Linked DNA regions of Homo sapiens: all the other regions are linked to region 1. Evidence: promoter capture Hi-C in 16 types of primary human blood cells and fetal thymus (Javierre and others, 2016). All regions are on one chromosome and are shown on one strand. The core of a region is centred on a gene start or on the middle of the fragment in contact, and the rest is flanking DNA. Distances in the headings are between cores, read along the strand shown. Region 1 holds the start of NOC3L (NOC3 like DNA replication regulator). Region 2 overlaps R3HCC1L (R3H domain and coiled-coil containing 1 like). Region 3 overlaps RPP30 (ribonuclease P/MRP subunit p30).

Region 1 (4,799 bases), core at 1,262-3,761:
GGCAACAATTGCTTTAAAATGATCCAGAGATTTTAGTTGATTGTAAACTTAAAATGGGCCAAGAGTATGACACAGTTCTTAAAAAAGCTAGCACATGCTGGGCATGGTGGCTCATGCCTGTAATCCCAGCACTTTGGGAGGTTGAGGTGGGAGGACTGCTTGAGCCCAGGAGTTTGAGACCAGCCTAGGCAGTATAGCAAGACCAAATCTCTGCAAATAATATAAATTAGCCGGGCATGGTGGTGCGTGCCTGTAGTTTCAGCTACCCAGGAAGCTGAGGTGGAGGATCCCTTGAGCCTGGGAGGTTGAGGCTGCAGTGAGCTGAGAGCTGCCACTGCACTCCAGCCTGGGCAACAGAGAAAAAAAATAAAAAAAGGCAATCTTTATATTAAAAAAGAAAATACTAGCACAGGATTGGGCTATGACAATAGAGAAGAGAAAGTGGAGACGCTAAAAGAATACTTTTTTCTGGAAGTAGGGACAAGTAGGAAAAGAGGCACATAAAAGAGCAATTAAAGGGAGATAAGTTTATTAGAACAAATCTTAAAAATGGAAGAGATTTGAATATGTTTATAAGCTGAGGGGAAGGATCTATTAGAGAGGGAAAGAACACAGGAAAGAAGGGATAATTAATGATACAAGAATCTGATGAAGCTGGGAGGAGTTGGTTTTGAACTGGAATGGGGATGCCTCATCCTTGGAGAGACTGGAAGGAAGGCTAAAAGGATGGGAGTGACTGTAGATATGTTGATATGCTTGGGAGGGAATTCAGGCACTTGGGAAGAGCACAGGCTGATGTTTTCCACTTGTTTGATGAAGTAATACTCCAGCGGGACAGGCTCTGCTGTTTCTGACACTGTGTGGAAGGAGACAGAGCAAGGAAGAAGTTGGAAGGGAGGTTGAAAGAAGAGTGCCAGATGGACCTCTTGGTCTTTGTGGTGGGATCAGGAAATTGGTACTTTTTTCCCTCAGTCTCTCTAAGAGCAACACTATTCAAGGGGCTCAGAACCCTTTGAGCCGCACTACTGGGTTTTCCCACCTGCTCAGGACTGCGAGGCCAGACTCTGTGTCAGGGCCATGCTCAAAAATCATAGACTCAAAAAAACCCACAAAAAACTTGAAGTGGAATGCTTAAATTTATTGAGAAAAAAAAGTCTTTGAGAGACAAGCACTTTGATACTCTTATTCTTGCAATCCATAAAACTTCCTGTAAAAATGAACGACTTTAGGCGGGGCGCGGTGGCTCATGCCTGTTATCCCAGCACTTTGGGAGGCCAAGGTGGGCGAATCACGAGGTCAGGAGATCGAGACCATCCTGGCTAACACGGTGAAACCCCGTCTCTACTAAAAATACAAAAAAAATTAGCTGGGCGTGGTGGCGGGCGCCTGTAGTTCCAGTTACTCGGGAGGCTGAGGCAGGAGAATGGCGTGAACCCAGAAGGCAGAGCTTGCAATGAGCCCAGATTGCGCCACTGCACTCCAGCCTGGGCGCCAGAGCAAGACTCCGTCTCAAAAAACAAAAACAAAAAACGACTTTGGTGAAATTACTAAGCAGACAGAATTTACCCAAAGTTGTAAGATACTGAAATGCAGATACAGTTTTTTATTTTTATTTTTATTTTTTAGACAGTCTTGCTCTGTCACCCAGGCTGGAGTGCAGTGGTGTGATCTCGACTCACTGCAACCTCTGCCTCCTGGGTTCAAGCGATTCTCCTGCCTCAGCCTCCCGAGTAGCTAGGATTACAGGCGCACGCCACCATGTCTGGCTGATTTTTGTATTTTTAGTAGAGACAGGGTTTCACCATGTTGGCCAGGCTGGTCTCGAACTCCTGGAACTCAGGTGATCCACCCGCCTCTGCCTCCCTAAGTGCTGGGATTACAAGCGTGAACCACCGCACCCAGCCATGGATACAGTTCTTTATCAGCTAATGGTTAAAAATTAAAGCAAAAAAAAAATGCAAAATAAAACACTAAGAATCACAGACTTTTAAGTGACCAAGGCTGATGAGAAATCATTCGCCATGCTACAAACACGGCCAGAATGTCCGTCGAGGGGCAGGCATTACACACAAAAAATAAGCTTCTTTCTGCCCTCAGGACTGTATGGAGGAAAAAGACTACGAAAATCAGTATCTATAACAGCATGAGATAAGCAACGTGAGGAGAGGCACAAAATGCAATGAGGTGACCGAAAAAACCAAGTCCTCTCATTCTGAGAGGAGGAGCCCGATTTCCCCAAGGTTTTAAAAGAAATAAATAGGGCGAGAGTCAAAGAATCATACTCAGATAACCTTGCAAAATGCGCCCCTCCCGCCCGGCTTCCCGCCTTTGGCACCGACGCCCTCGGGGCTTCCCTCGTGCCAGTCCGCGCGCGCACGCCGGGGGGCAACCGGTCCAGGGCCGCGAGACAGTCACCGCGAGAGGGCGCGAGCCCGAACCTGTCTACGGAAGTCCCGCCCTCACTTCCGGCGGCGGAGGATTGGGAGGGACTGAAGGCCGTTTCCGGCTCTGGTAGTGTAGGGACTTCGGCACGTGTGTCATTCCCCGGGATTTCTGTAGTAACCCTGCTTCTGGTGAACTTGTCTGGCCGGCATTCATTTAAGGCCTAAGGATGAAGGCGGTAAGTGTCCTCAAAAGCCCGGTCGCCGCGGCCTAGGGCCCCTTCGGGTGATAGAGTCACTGCCTGAGTTAGCTTTTAGGCAGGTTTTCACCCGTGTCTAGGGGGCGGTGGTTTAGACTGGGGGCTTTCCATTCCTTACACCGAGCTCATCCTTGGTTACCCACTGTGTGCGCGCACCACTTCAGAGTATCACGAAGAGACAGGCACGGAGTTTTGCATGCGTGGGATTTCATACTTTGAAGGAATTTTTCAAGACCGTCTTTCGAACTCGTTTTTCACAAATGAGAAGCAGGGTCCTACCCTCAGCGAGTTTATAATGTGAGTCACGGTACCCATGAAGGGTAAAGAGATAGAAAAGCAAGTGATTTGTCCTGGTTCTCCCAGAAAATAAGAGGTAGTCCTGGGGTTCAGGACTAACTTTGGGATTTCTGAATGAGTCACCAGCAAGAGAAGTGGAATCCAAAGATCCGAATTCAGTTTTGCCCTCCTTAGTTTATGGGTCTTTTGGCAGCTTCATCAGTAATGTGAGGATAACAGCAGTCAGTACTCAACTAGGCTGTTAGAGGTGATTTGTTGGAGCACTTTGTAAGTAATAAAATCGTAGATAAATGTAAGTTTTATTAAAGACAGCCAGCATTTTGCTTTGAATGTGTTAAACTACAGGTGTGTTAAACTAGCCTTGAATAGCCACTTACCACTACTAGATCAGTGGTTCTTAACCTGTTTGGGGATCGTAGAACCCTTTGAATTGCTGTGAATTGGGATTGAATAACTGATGCTGTAGCGCTCTTCTGTAGGATTAAAGCCATCGTTTGGTTTTAGCTTTTATATGCAAGTCTGTGGCTGTGGGACATTGAAATTGTGGAATTGGTCTAATGAAATTTGTAATCAGTTCTCTTTAACCTGATTTAAAAAATAAGTTTCTGGGTATGCAGTATTCTTTCTGTTATTTTCTAGAGAAGAAATAAAAAACAGATCCCAAGCTTTCGCAAGTTAATAAAAACTAGTAAAGTCAAACTTGAAAACAAGCTAAAAAATAAGCAGTTTAAACAACAAAGCACTCTCAAGAAGTACCGAAAAGAACAGAGGAAACTAAGGCAAGCTGTGAAAGATGCTGTGTCTAAGAAACCCATTCCATTGGAGAACCCAAAGGAAAAGCGACCAGGTAATTGTGAAAACATCATGTGCTCTGGTTTCCATTGATTTATTCTGAAGTGTTCTTCATGGAAATAACTTTGCTTTCTAGTAATCGCTTTTCTTGTTCTCAGATCTTCCTAGAGTGGGTAAGGATAGTAGTCCTATAGGACTGCTATAAAGCATATATGCTTTATCACAGTCAGTATGAGAAAACATTTCAATACAGTATTCATTCAAGCTTCTGCTTTTAGTTTGTCTGGAAGGCAGATCTGAAGATGCACTACTTGGGAAAACAAACTGAAAGTACTCCGTTACATAAATATTGGGCAGTGTGCCAGTGCTGCCACTTTGCCATTCACCAGCAGTTAGGTAAGGTAAGAACATTGCTTGTCTCTGGTTCATTCTTCACAGTATTGCCAAGGTACACTTCTAAACTTCTGACTTTCTTTTCATGTGGAAACTTGGGGTGAAATTGAGTTGTAATTGTCATGGTTATTTTGTAAAACTATCTAAAAATTATTAAGTACTCAAAACTTGTAAGGAATATGACTATTTTGAGTCAGGCTAGTTCTACAACTTTGCTGGTACTTTTAGGGTATTCTTATTTGACTATATCAGATTATTAGACAACTATTCAGTCTTCTCAGGTCCATTTTTTAAAAATTATTATTATTATTTTAAATAGACAGGGTCTTGTTCTGTCACCCAGGCTGGAGTGCAGTGTGCAAAAATAGCCCACTACAGCCTTGACCTCCTGGGCTCAGGCAGTCCTCCTGCTTCAGCCTCCAAAAGTGCTGGAATTGCAAGGGTGAGCCACAGCACCCAGCTAAAGTTTTTTTTTTTTCTAATTTTGTGGGTACATAGTAGGTGTATATATTTATGGGATACATGAGGTACTTTGATACAGGCATACAATGCATAATAATCACATCAGAGTAAATGTGGTATCCATCACCTCAAGCATTTATCTTTGTGTTACGAACAATCCAGTTATACTTTTTTAGTTATTTTAAAACATAAAATAAATTATTGTTGACTATAG
Region 2 (4,799 bases), core at 1,222-3,721, 3.8 Mb before region 1:
CTTGCTACCTCCCACCCCCACAATGTTTTTCTTACAGTGACTCTGACACTCCTGTGAGAAGCAGATCCCATGTAACTGTCACTCTCTCCTTGAATCTGGCAAGCTTGTGATACTACAGAACTTCTAAGGCTTGGTCACAAAAAGTAATGCAGTTTCCACCTGGTTCTCTCTAGATGTTCACTCTTAGAAAACAGCCACCACCATGCTGCAAAGAAGCTCAAATTAGCCTATCTGGGTAGGTAGGTGTTCTGAGGGACAATCAACATCAATCACCAGCCATGTGAGTGAAGAAGCCTCCAGGTTCTAAGTACCAGCCATAAAGTCACCACCAGCTTTTGAATCTTCCCAGCTAAGGCTTAAGCAAGCCATCTGTGCAGAAACTGTCCTGTCTGAATTCCAACAGATCCATAGCACAATAAAATGGTTGTTTTACACCATTATGTTTTGGAATGGCTTGCTACAAACACAACAAAAGGTAACCAGAAAAAAAGTGCCCTTTCCCAGTTTGGTAGCTTTACATTACACACATACACACCACCCCTAAAATCAAGTTTTTCTCAACTTTAAGGAAGGTCCAATCCAATGTGCAATTTGGCAGACCTGTTTAAATAAGACAGTTTCTACTTAGGAGGCTTAACAATTCATCTCATATATACCCTGAATACCTATGATATGTAAGATACTTTCCTAGATTCCTAAGACACAAAGATGAATAACATATAGTCTGTAGTTAAAAGTTTACAATCTAGGAAGAGAATAAAATGGGTACACACTAGTTTATGAAAGTACCTAAGTGCCAAAATAGGATTATAAAGTTAACTCTGCCACAAATAGTTACAGCATCATTTTGGACTTATAAACAGCTTTTGGGTCCTTCAGGAAAGTAGATGGGCTTTAGTAAATGCCTAGAAAAAGAAGACTGGGAAAAAAAAAACATGAAAAATGTGGGCCTCATTATGTTATGTTTAGATTGTGAGATTATGAGTGTTTTCTGTTCTCCTTTTAAATTTCCTGTATTTGCCATGTTTTCTATAGTAAGTTATATATTAGATTTTTTGAGGAAAAAATTAATATTAATCTTAATTTTTTTAAAAATGTGTTTAAACTACACTGAGAGGTCACGTAAGTAGTTAACAGGTAATACATAAATTGACTTGATATTTGCATGCTGAATATGCAAAATAAACTTAGTATTTAAGGAAAAATGTTAGTGTAATAAAAATTTCATGTTACTTGATTTACTATTAATATCTGTTTATTTTCCCTTTCCTAGCCAACTATAAATATTTACATGTTCTTCTCAAATAACAGACAAAAATCCAATAAGCTCTCCATCTTACTCATGACATTCACTCTTTCTGTCTCCCTCCCTGTATCTGTCTGTCCCTCATTTCTAACTCTGCCCGTCTGTCTACATCTCTGATTACCCTGCTTTCTAACTCTGCCTAGGTGACTGTCCCTCTCTGTTTTTGACTTCTCTGTCTCTGACTGACCCTCCTCTCTCTCTGCCTATTGCATGTGTCTCTATGACTCTGTGTGTAGGTGTCTTTGAGCTCCTCTCTTGGATTCTGCCTTTCCGTCTCTCCCCCAGTTATCCACCTCATTTTTAATACATCCTTGCTGTTTACTTTTCCTTTTAATATTTATAAACAAGCAGAGTTGGTTTTATTAACCCTATTTTAAAGACAAGAAAACAGAAACAGGACGACTGGCATACAATTTGAGAAATCAGGATGTAAATCCAACTGCTTCCCTTCTTTCTTTAATAGTCTTCTGGCATTCCATGGCAAAGAACTTGAAACAGCACAACTGCAAGCCAATATGAACACTACAGGCATTCAGATTCTTTTCTAAGAGACAAATGTGATATTAAGGAGTGCTACACACCTTTTGCCCACATTATTCACTCTGCACAGGTTAAATGGTCATGAACTGTCAGCCATTTGCCTATCCCAGAAATCCGTATCCTCATGTTCAGTTTGACCCATGTTATTTGGAAACCTCACGATACTAGATACTAGAATCTGTTTTCCAACAGTGCTTCTCTGCTTCTGTTTTTATCCCTAGTCCCAATCCAGCTATATCTGGCATTAAAAAAAAAGATACAAGAAGGACAACAAATATTAATAAAACTGAAGGGTGAATTTGAAGAATGAAAAACTATACAGAAGGCTAGCATGAGACAGTGAAAAATGGACACCACAGACTCGAAGCAATTGGTCCATGTTTTATTAAGAGAAAAGAAAATTCTCTCCAAATGCAGGCTTACTGCTGCTAAGTAACACCCTATAACTTTTCCTCTATCTAATGCTTTGACAACTGGAATTTCTCTGTAATTCAATAAGCTCTTAGGAGTTCCCCAAGCTTCATCCATCCTGCTGGGCTCATTACTGGATAATTCTAAATGTTTTCTGCACTAGCGAAGAGCACATTTCCTCGTGGGTAGCACAACAGAAGGAGGGTACTCTTTCAAGGCATGAATAGCCTAGCTCCATTTCTTCTCACTTCTCCTATAGGTGAGAAGTCTACAACAAATATAATTCAACAACTAAAAGAAATGTCTAAATTATAAGCTTAGGTTACTGGGGTTGTCAAAGATCATCCTACAGGTCACGAGTTTTATACATAGTGTGACGGCTAATCATATATTTATATAAGCTAATGAAAAATCTATACTTTTGCTTCTGGCACTAGTTCATTTACTTATGTCTAATGAGTTGCATTAGGGCCAAATAAAAAATATACCAGTCTTTTCATTCATTCTGGTGAGATATTTGTGAATAGTTAGCTTATGGAGCTAATGAGGACAAGGTCACAGACTCAAACTCCATGCTGGCCAATTAGCTTTGCTGTGTGTTTCTAGGTTCCATGGTCACAGTCAACAACCTTAACCTTGGCTAAGAAACACACTGATCATTGAAGCATTAGGGGAATGAATATAGATGTATCAACAAAATCCATACCTTTCAGAAAAAAAATAAAAATTAAAAATAGTAATAACAACACCACCCCAATCTTTAATATTATACTAAACCTGGCTAATATGTGCCTCATTCGAATAATCTTTAATCTTCTCAACCATGCAGGGTTAGTCTAATCTGTCTTCCAGATGATGAGAAACTGAATTCAGAATGATCATATGAACCAAAGTTACATCTAGTGAGCCTGGATTCAGACCTTGGTCTGTCTTGACTCCAAAGCATAGGTTATTGCCACAATGCTACATGGCCTCTCCAGAGTGCACCTCAGTGACCTAGGACAATCAACAAAATGTTCCTATTCAGAACTATTCAGCACACTCATTACTGAGCATCCACTATACATACTCACACACTATAGATGAGAATTAGCATACCTTCCAAAAATTCCTTTTAAGTAAAAAACAGTCAAGGAACAAAAGTGTTTAATTGATTTTTTTTTTTTAATAAAGATGAAGTCTCACTTTGTTGCCCAGGCTGGTCTTGAACTCTTGGCCTCAAATGAGCCTACCTCAGAGGATCTCAAAATGCTGAAAGTACAAGAGTGAGCTACCAGGCCCAGCCAAAAGTGTTTAAGATTAAAACATAAAGGAAAAATTAACACATTATAGCATACAAAGTAGATTTTAATGGAAGTGACTTTCTATTGTCATAGCTTTGTATACAAGTCTGGTGTGAAAAAATAGTTATCTTGCTGATTCATAACTAAAGGTAAGAAAGAAGCTGGCAAAACATAGCACAGGCATACCACATCAAAAAAGAGAGTAAAGGAAACATTTCCTAAGCATCTGAATCTGCAGATATCTGGTAGTCAACATGGCACTTGAAGGAAGTAAAAAATATATACTTCAATTCTAAACTCCAAGACTTTGCCTTGACCAACAAACCATTTTTCTCTATAAGGCTTTCCTCCTTGGTTTTTCTCAACTCTCACTCCCTGCAGATACATACATACCAATGCCATCATTAGCATCAGTCACTAAGAAATGCCATCTTGAAAAAATGAAGGTCACCAAGTCTCCCAGACCCTATCCAATAAGCTTAAATTTTAAAGTCTAATAGTCTGGCTTAAAAAAAATAAAAATAAAAATAAGGCAGGAAGACAAAACTGTTCCATAAACGTCTATCCTAGTCAATATCTGAGTCATAAAGATAGATAATTGCTCTGCTACAAGCTACAATGTACAGAATTGCATTCTTACTACAGGTTGTAAATGAAGCACCAGTTCAATTTCAACAAACTAGGTACAAAGCAACATTTGGAATCTCTAGAAAAACAGAAACACAGCAAAGCCCAATAACCTTGCACAACAGCATTTTAGGAACCTCTAAAGTTGAAAAAAAATCTAATATAATTTTTATATAAAATGCAATTGCTAAAAAACAAACTGCAATCTGACAACTTCTATTTACAGTATTTTTTAAAGTTTGTGAATTAAGGATGACTATCCTCATTTTACAGATAAATGGAATTTCAGGAAAATACCTAAAATTATCATCATCACTATTATCATAATCATCAATAACAACAGCAACAAAATAATGAGAACTTTATTTGTACCCAGCACTAGTAAGCCATTTATGGTCACATCTCATTTCATCTTTGTAGACACCTTGTGACATAATGCCATTTACCTCCATTTGAGAGATTAGGAAACAGGCTCAGAGAAGTCAACTAATTTGCCCAAAATCAAAAACTACAGGTTGAGAATCCCTAATCGGAAAATCCGAAATCCAAAATGCTTACAAACTTTTTTTTTTTTGAGACGGGAGTCTTGCTCTGTCGCCAGGCTGGAGCACAGTGGTGTGATCTCGGCTCAC
Region 3 (4,799 bases), core at 1,253-3,752, 3.5 Mb after region 1:
CCTTAGGACTCTGTACTAAACCTCTTCTTCCCACAATGCACTTTGGCCAGGGAGTCTCATCCATTCCCGTGATTTCAATTACTCATGCAGGTGACCACTTCCAAAGCACCATCTTTAATTGGGATCACTCTTCTGAAGGCCACATCTTTTTTTTTTTGAAATGAAGTCTGGCTCTGTTGCGCAGGCTAGAGTACACTGGTGTGATCTCACTGCAACCTCTGCCTCTCTGGCTCAAGTGATTCTCCTGCCTCAGACTCTTGAGTAGCTGGGATTACAGGTACCCGCCAGCACGGCCTGCTAATTTTTGGGTTTTTAGTAGAGATGGGGTTTCACCACTTTCACCAGGCTGGTCTTGAACTCCTGACCTCAAGTGATCTGCCTGCCTAGGCCTCCCAAAATGTTGGGATTACAGGCATGAGCCACTGTGCACATCTTTTTTGACGGGCTCTTTTGAAACTCTCACAGTAACTCATCAGGATGCCCCCAAACCTGCTGGTTTGTATGGTCCGTCTCAGGAAATGGTACACCATTACCTACCTGGCTGCTCAGGCCACCTAGGGAGTAATCATCCTACACCCAATTAACCAATAAATCCCATCAATTCTCCCTCCTGGATGCCTCTTAAGTACCCTCCTTAACTCCCTCTAATCCATTCTCTGTAATTCAAACCTCATTTCACTCCCTTAGTTAAAACCTTCAAGGGCTTCCAACTGCTCTTGGAATCCTCACCCAAATTTATATCTTTAACCTTATGCCATGTAACCGGCTCACTAGGCTTAGCCCTATTGTTTTGTTTCACTTCCCAGAAAATACCACGTTTTCCTTAGCTTCAGGACCTATGCATAATCCATCCTATCTGGGAACATTAGCTCCCTGCTTGTCACCTATTTAACATTTACTGACTCTTCTGTCTCCCAGCTTGAATATCAACTTACTCAGGTTACATACTCCCAGAGCATCCTTTATTTACCACTTCCCTACCTTGGAACATTCCTTACATTTGTAATTATTATTTGTTCAGTGCTTGCCTTGCCAATTAAACTTTAAGCTTTATAAGTTCAAGGATTGTGCTATTATTCATGGCAATACCCCCCAGCACCCACCTTAAGTCTGGTGCACGTGAGTTCAATGAGTAACAGTTGCCAAGGGATTCTTTAATTGTGGTATCACTACACATGTGCCATGAGTAAGTGGAACAGACATATTACACTGTGTGAATTCTGAGGACAAGGAGAGCAAGCAGGTGTCATGGTTTGGCGGGGGCGAGGGAAAATGTAAAATGGGGAAGACAAAATGCAACATTGTTCAACATTAATCAATACAACTCACAAAGCCAAAAGGAGAGAAGAAAAATAATTAACTTACCAAAACATTGCAGTGAGATGGATCCGAGACAATAATTGTTAATCTAGTTAAAATTTTAATTGGTCTTGATTTTCCCTATTTAAAAAAGACATGATGTCAAAAAAGCACAAAAGACAATAATTGATTTTCCTTTTTACCAGTGGAAAGTATTCATTAAAAGGTACTGGCTATAAGGGATAGTGAAGATCAATAAAACCCAGTCCTTGTTCTCTAGGAATTTACAATACAGCCACAGAAAGAGATGTATATATCTTAAACTACATAACGAGATAATTTAAAAATTGTAGGACTTCAGGAAAGAAGATCATCAAAGCAATGCTGAATTGATAGTAAAAGAATGTTTCCTGAAGAGCTGAGCCTTGAGGAAAACGTTAAGACTGGTACTCAGAGTAAGGTGCAGCTCAAGCTAGAGAATAGCACAATAATTAGGTACCTTTTAACTGAATAAATAGATATTATGCTTCGTAAACAACAAAACACCTACCTGTACAATTGGCAAAGTTGTGAAGAGTTCAGAAACAGCTACTGGTTTTTCAATTTCCTACAACAAACGATAAATAGTTACTGCAGATTGTATCCATTAATAGCACAAGGCATAATGGAAAAATTACGAGGTGTTCTCAGAAAAAATATGCATTTTTTTTAAAAAGAAAGCAAGGTGATTTCTGGTATTCAAAAAAACTTTTAAAAATTATTTTTAAAAAGAAAGCTAAATAGAGAAGCAACTGTAAACATCAGTGAATAGGAAGAATGAAAACTAATTTTTAGACTGAAATAATCTACAGGATACAGTTGTTGGCCTAAAGAGAAATATACATACTTATTAGTAATGTTTAAGAGAGAAAGTAGTTAATAAGCCCATGACAATAGAATAAAAAGGACTAAATATTTTGATTACAGTCCAGCCAATAACAATGCACTTTTTGAACAGTGAAAAGTAACTTAATTTCAAATCACCTTTAAGAATCCTGAACACTATGTCATATTACCTCACAAAAATCATCATTGTATAAATATGCATCAGCTCGACTGTTTCTATATAAAATAGAAAAGTAGTAGTGCACAAAGGGGTGCATTTAAGAAATATTCTAATCTGTAGCTTCCAAATTACCAATACAAACAGAATTACAAATACTTATTTATGAACTTATTAACTTTAGAAATATTATTTTACCTGTTTCTTTTCCTTAAAGTCAACGATATGATTGATAGCAACAACTGAATAGCCAACTGAAAAAGAAAAATTGAACACTTTTGTTAAATATAACAACCTCTCCTTCCTGTAACACAGGTCCATCCTGAGTCTAGATGTCAAGAGTAGGAGGACATTTGAGGAGTGGTTATGAATGTGAACTCTAGTGTCAGTCTGCCTGATTTAAAGTCTATGCACTACCACTTACAAGTTACTTAACATGAAGTTTCAGGTTCCTCATCTGTCAAATGGTGAAAATAACAACACTTTCTTCATACACTGTCATGAAATTTAAATGAAATAATACACATGAGGTGTTTGAGAACAGTGCCTGGCACACAGGTCTTTGTTTAACCATTATGAATTATTATTAAAATGATACTAAAGACTCTTAACTTTGTGCTTCTCCTTTTCAAATGTCATTCTCTTTCATGACCCTATATTCATTTTTATCCCATCAAGTTCCTACTTTATCACTGTCACTTTTATTCCCGTTCATTTCTTTTGCTTTTTATCCTTCTACTTCCTTCAGAGACTCCTTTCCTAAGGAGAAATGGAGTGATAACTCCCTCACACCACTGCCCGCTTCCCATTTTAAGCTGCACACCATCGACAGACTGGGAGCTCCTTGAGGTCAAGGGCTTGCTTTATTATCCTCATCAGTTAGCACTGTTCTGGACATTTGGGCTACCAAAAAAAAATCTAAATCATGACTCCCATCTTTAATTTTTAAAAATACCAATGGGGATGAAAGGATATTAACATTAAAATACATATCAATGCCAAACTCTCAACAGTTTGTCCAACTTCCTTCTTCCCTTCCTCCCTCAAATATTTACTGAGCATCCATTACTTGACAAGCCCTAAACTGGTGTTGAGCATACAGGATAAATAATATAATCCTTCTCCACAAGAAATTTACAGCCTAGTCTGTTGGAGAACGAAGGCAAATAAGGCAATTAAGCAAGTCATTGTATATAAATACATGTTTTTTATAAGTAAGGATTCTATGGAAGTACATAGCACAGTGAAACCTGGTGTAGGGGTCACAAAAGGCTCCCTGAAGAAAGTTACCCTTAAAAACAAAAAAAAAATCACAAGTATGCCTGTACCTTGGGCTTCACCTTGCACCCAGTTAGTCAAATCAACCAGCCACACCTCCTCCCTATTCTTCTTTACCACACTCCCAAATCTGCTCTAAACTTCCTTGTTATACCCATTTAGGATATCCTTTTGGCTACTAAACAATGTCCCTACCGTTCTACAGAAATGTCAACTAGGATCTGTTTCTCCACAAAACTTTTTCCTAGACTACTCCTCATCTGGCAGCTTAGGAGTACTTACTTCCCCAATCAGGCTTTAGGGTATTTTAATTTACACAGTATATTTCTGAAGCTTATTATTGGTTTCTTGTATCACATCAGAAACTGAGAACCAGGGCTCTGTCTTTCCTATTCTTTGCAAATGTCCACTATTTAGTTCCAGACTCATCAAATAGCAGAGCAGTCCTTTGTCTTTGACTTGTAAGTTGAGGCAACTTTATATGCCATGAATTCCATTTAATTTACAAACAAATAACCACTAACAATGTACATATATTACCACACCTCTTCCAAGTGTATTTTAAACTGGGGGAAATTCTCTAAAGAAATCATTATTAACTTTTCTTTTTTGTATTAATTTTTTTAATGTGTTCAGTTTATTCCACAAGCATTAACTGAGTAACTGCCATGTACTGGTGCCTGCAGAGTGAACGTGTTAAGCACAGTAAATAAAAGGATAAGACATGGCAATTCTCTTAGGAAGCTCATGATTTATTCAAAAATGGGATGGCGTCAGGAAAAGCCTCATTGAGGAGGTAATAATTGCGACAAACTACACCTAGGAAAACTTATTTTACAGGATCAAAGAACATTAGCGCCAAATGGCCCAGATCATCATGTCTACTTTCGTCTTCGTGCTGATGAGCAAAGTACCACAGAGATAACGTTCATTTAGTGGCAGCAGTGGAAAGGGACAGTCATTTCGCCACGGATACTTCATAAAGAGAACAATAAAAAAGTGGTGTGATTCACTTTGCCAAGAAGTGGTTGTCATTTCTAGCACCACCTCTGAACAGTATCAGTAATCAGAACTCACAATGAGCTGAAAACTGTCTCTGAGGAGCAGATGTTACTACACGAACCTCTTGATTCTTTTTAATCTCTCTATTCCAACACTTTACAGTCTACGGAATACAGAA

The links. The method cuts DNA at HindIII sites, captures the fragments that hold promoters and counts their contacts. A CHiCAGO score of 5 or more calls a contact.
Region 2: a fragment that was not itself captured here is called in contact with the fragment with the promoter of NOC3L in region 1 in 1 of 17 cell types (activated CD4 T cells); the score reaches 7.8 in activated CD4 T cells.
Region 3: a fragment that was not itself captured here is called in contact with the fragment with the promoter of NOC3L in region 1 in 1 of 17 cell types (monocytes); the score reaches 6.4 in monocytes.

Annotation. Positions count from the first base shown.
Region 1 is chr10:94,360,651-94,365,449 of GRCh38, reverse strand. It overlaps NOC3L (NOC3 like DNA replication regulator), which reads left to right and starts at 2,511. Exons shown (of 21, transcript NM_022451.11): 1 at 2,511-2,620; 2 at 3,578-3,785. The coding sequence starts at 2,612. RefSeq lists a silencer at 2,308-2,437 and an enhancer at 2,578-2,837. The HindIII fragment of the contact is 1,523 bases long and covers 2,083-3,605 here.
Region 2 is chr10:98,137,153-98,141,951 of GRCh38, reverse strand. All of the region lies in intron 1 of R3HCC1L (R3H domain and coiled-coil containing 1 like), which reads right to left. Among named protein-coding and RNA genes, the nearest start is that of R3HCC1L, 4.9 kb to the right of the region's middle. The HindIII fragment of the contact is 209 bases long and covers 2,367-2,575 here.
Region 3 is chr10:90,872,665-90,877,463 of GRCh38, reverse strand. RPP30 (ribonuclease P/MRP subunit p30) reads right to left here. Exons shown (of 11, transcript NM_006413.5): 2 at 2,540-2,595; 3 at 1,850-1,906; 4 at 1,366-1,440. Among named protein-coding and RNA genes, the nearest start is that of RPP30, 3.1 kb to the right of the region's middle. The HindIII fragment of the contact is 2,904 bases long and covers 1,051-3,954 here.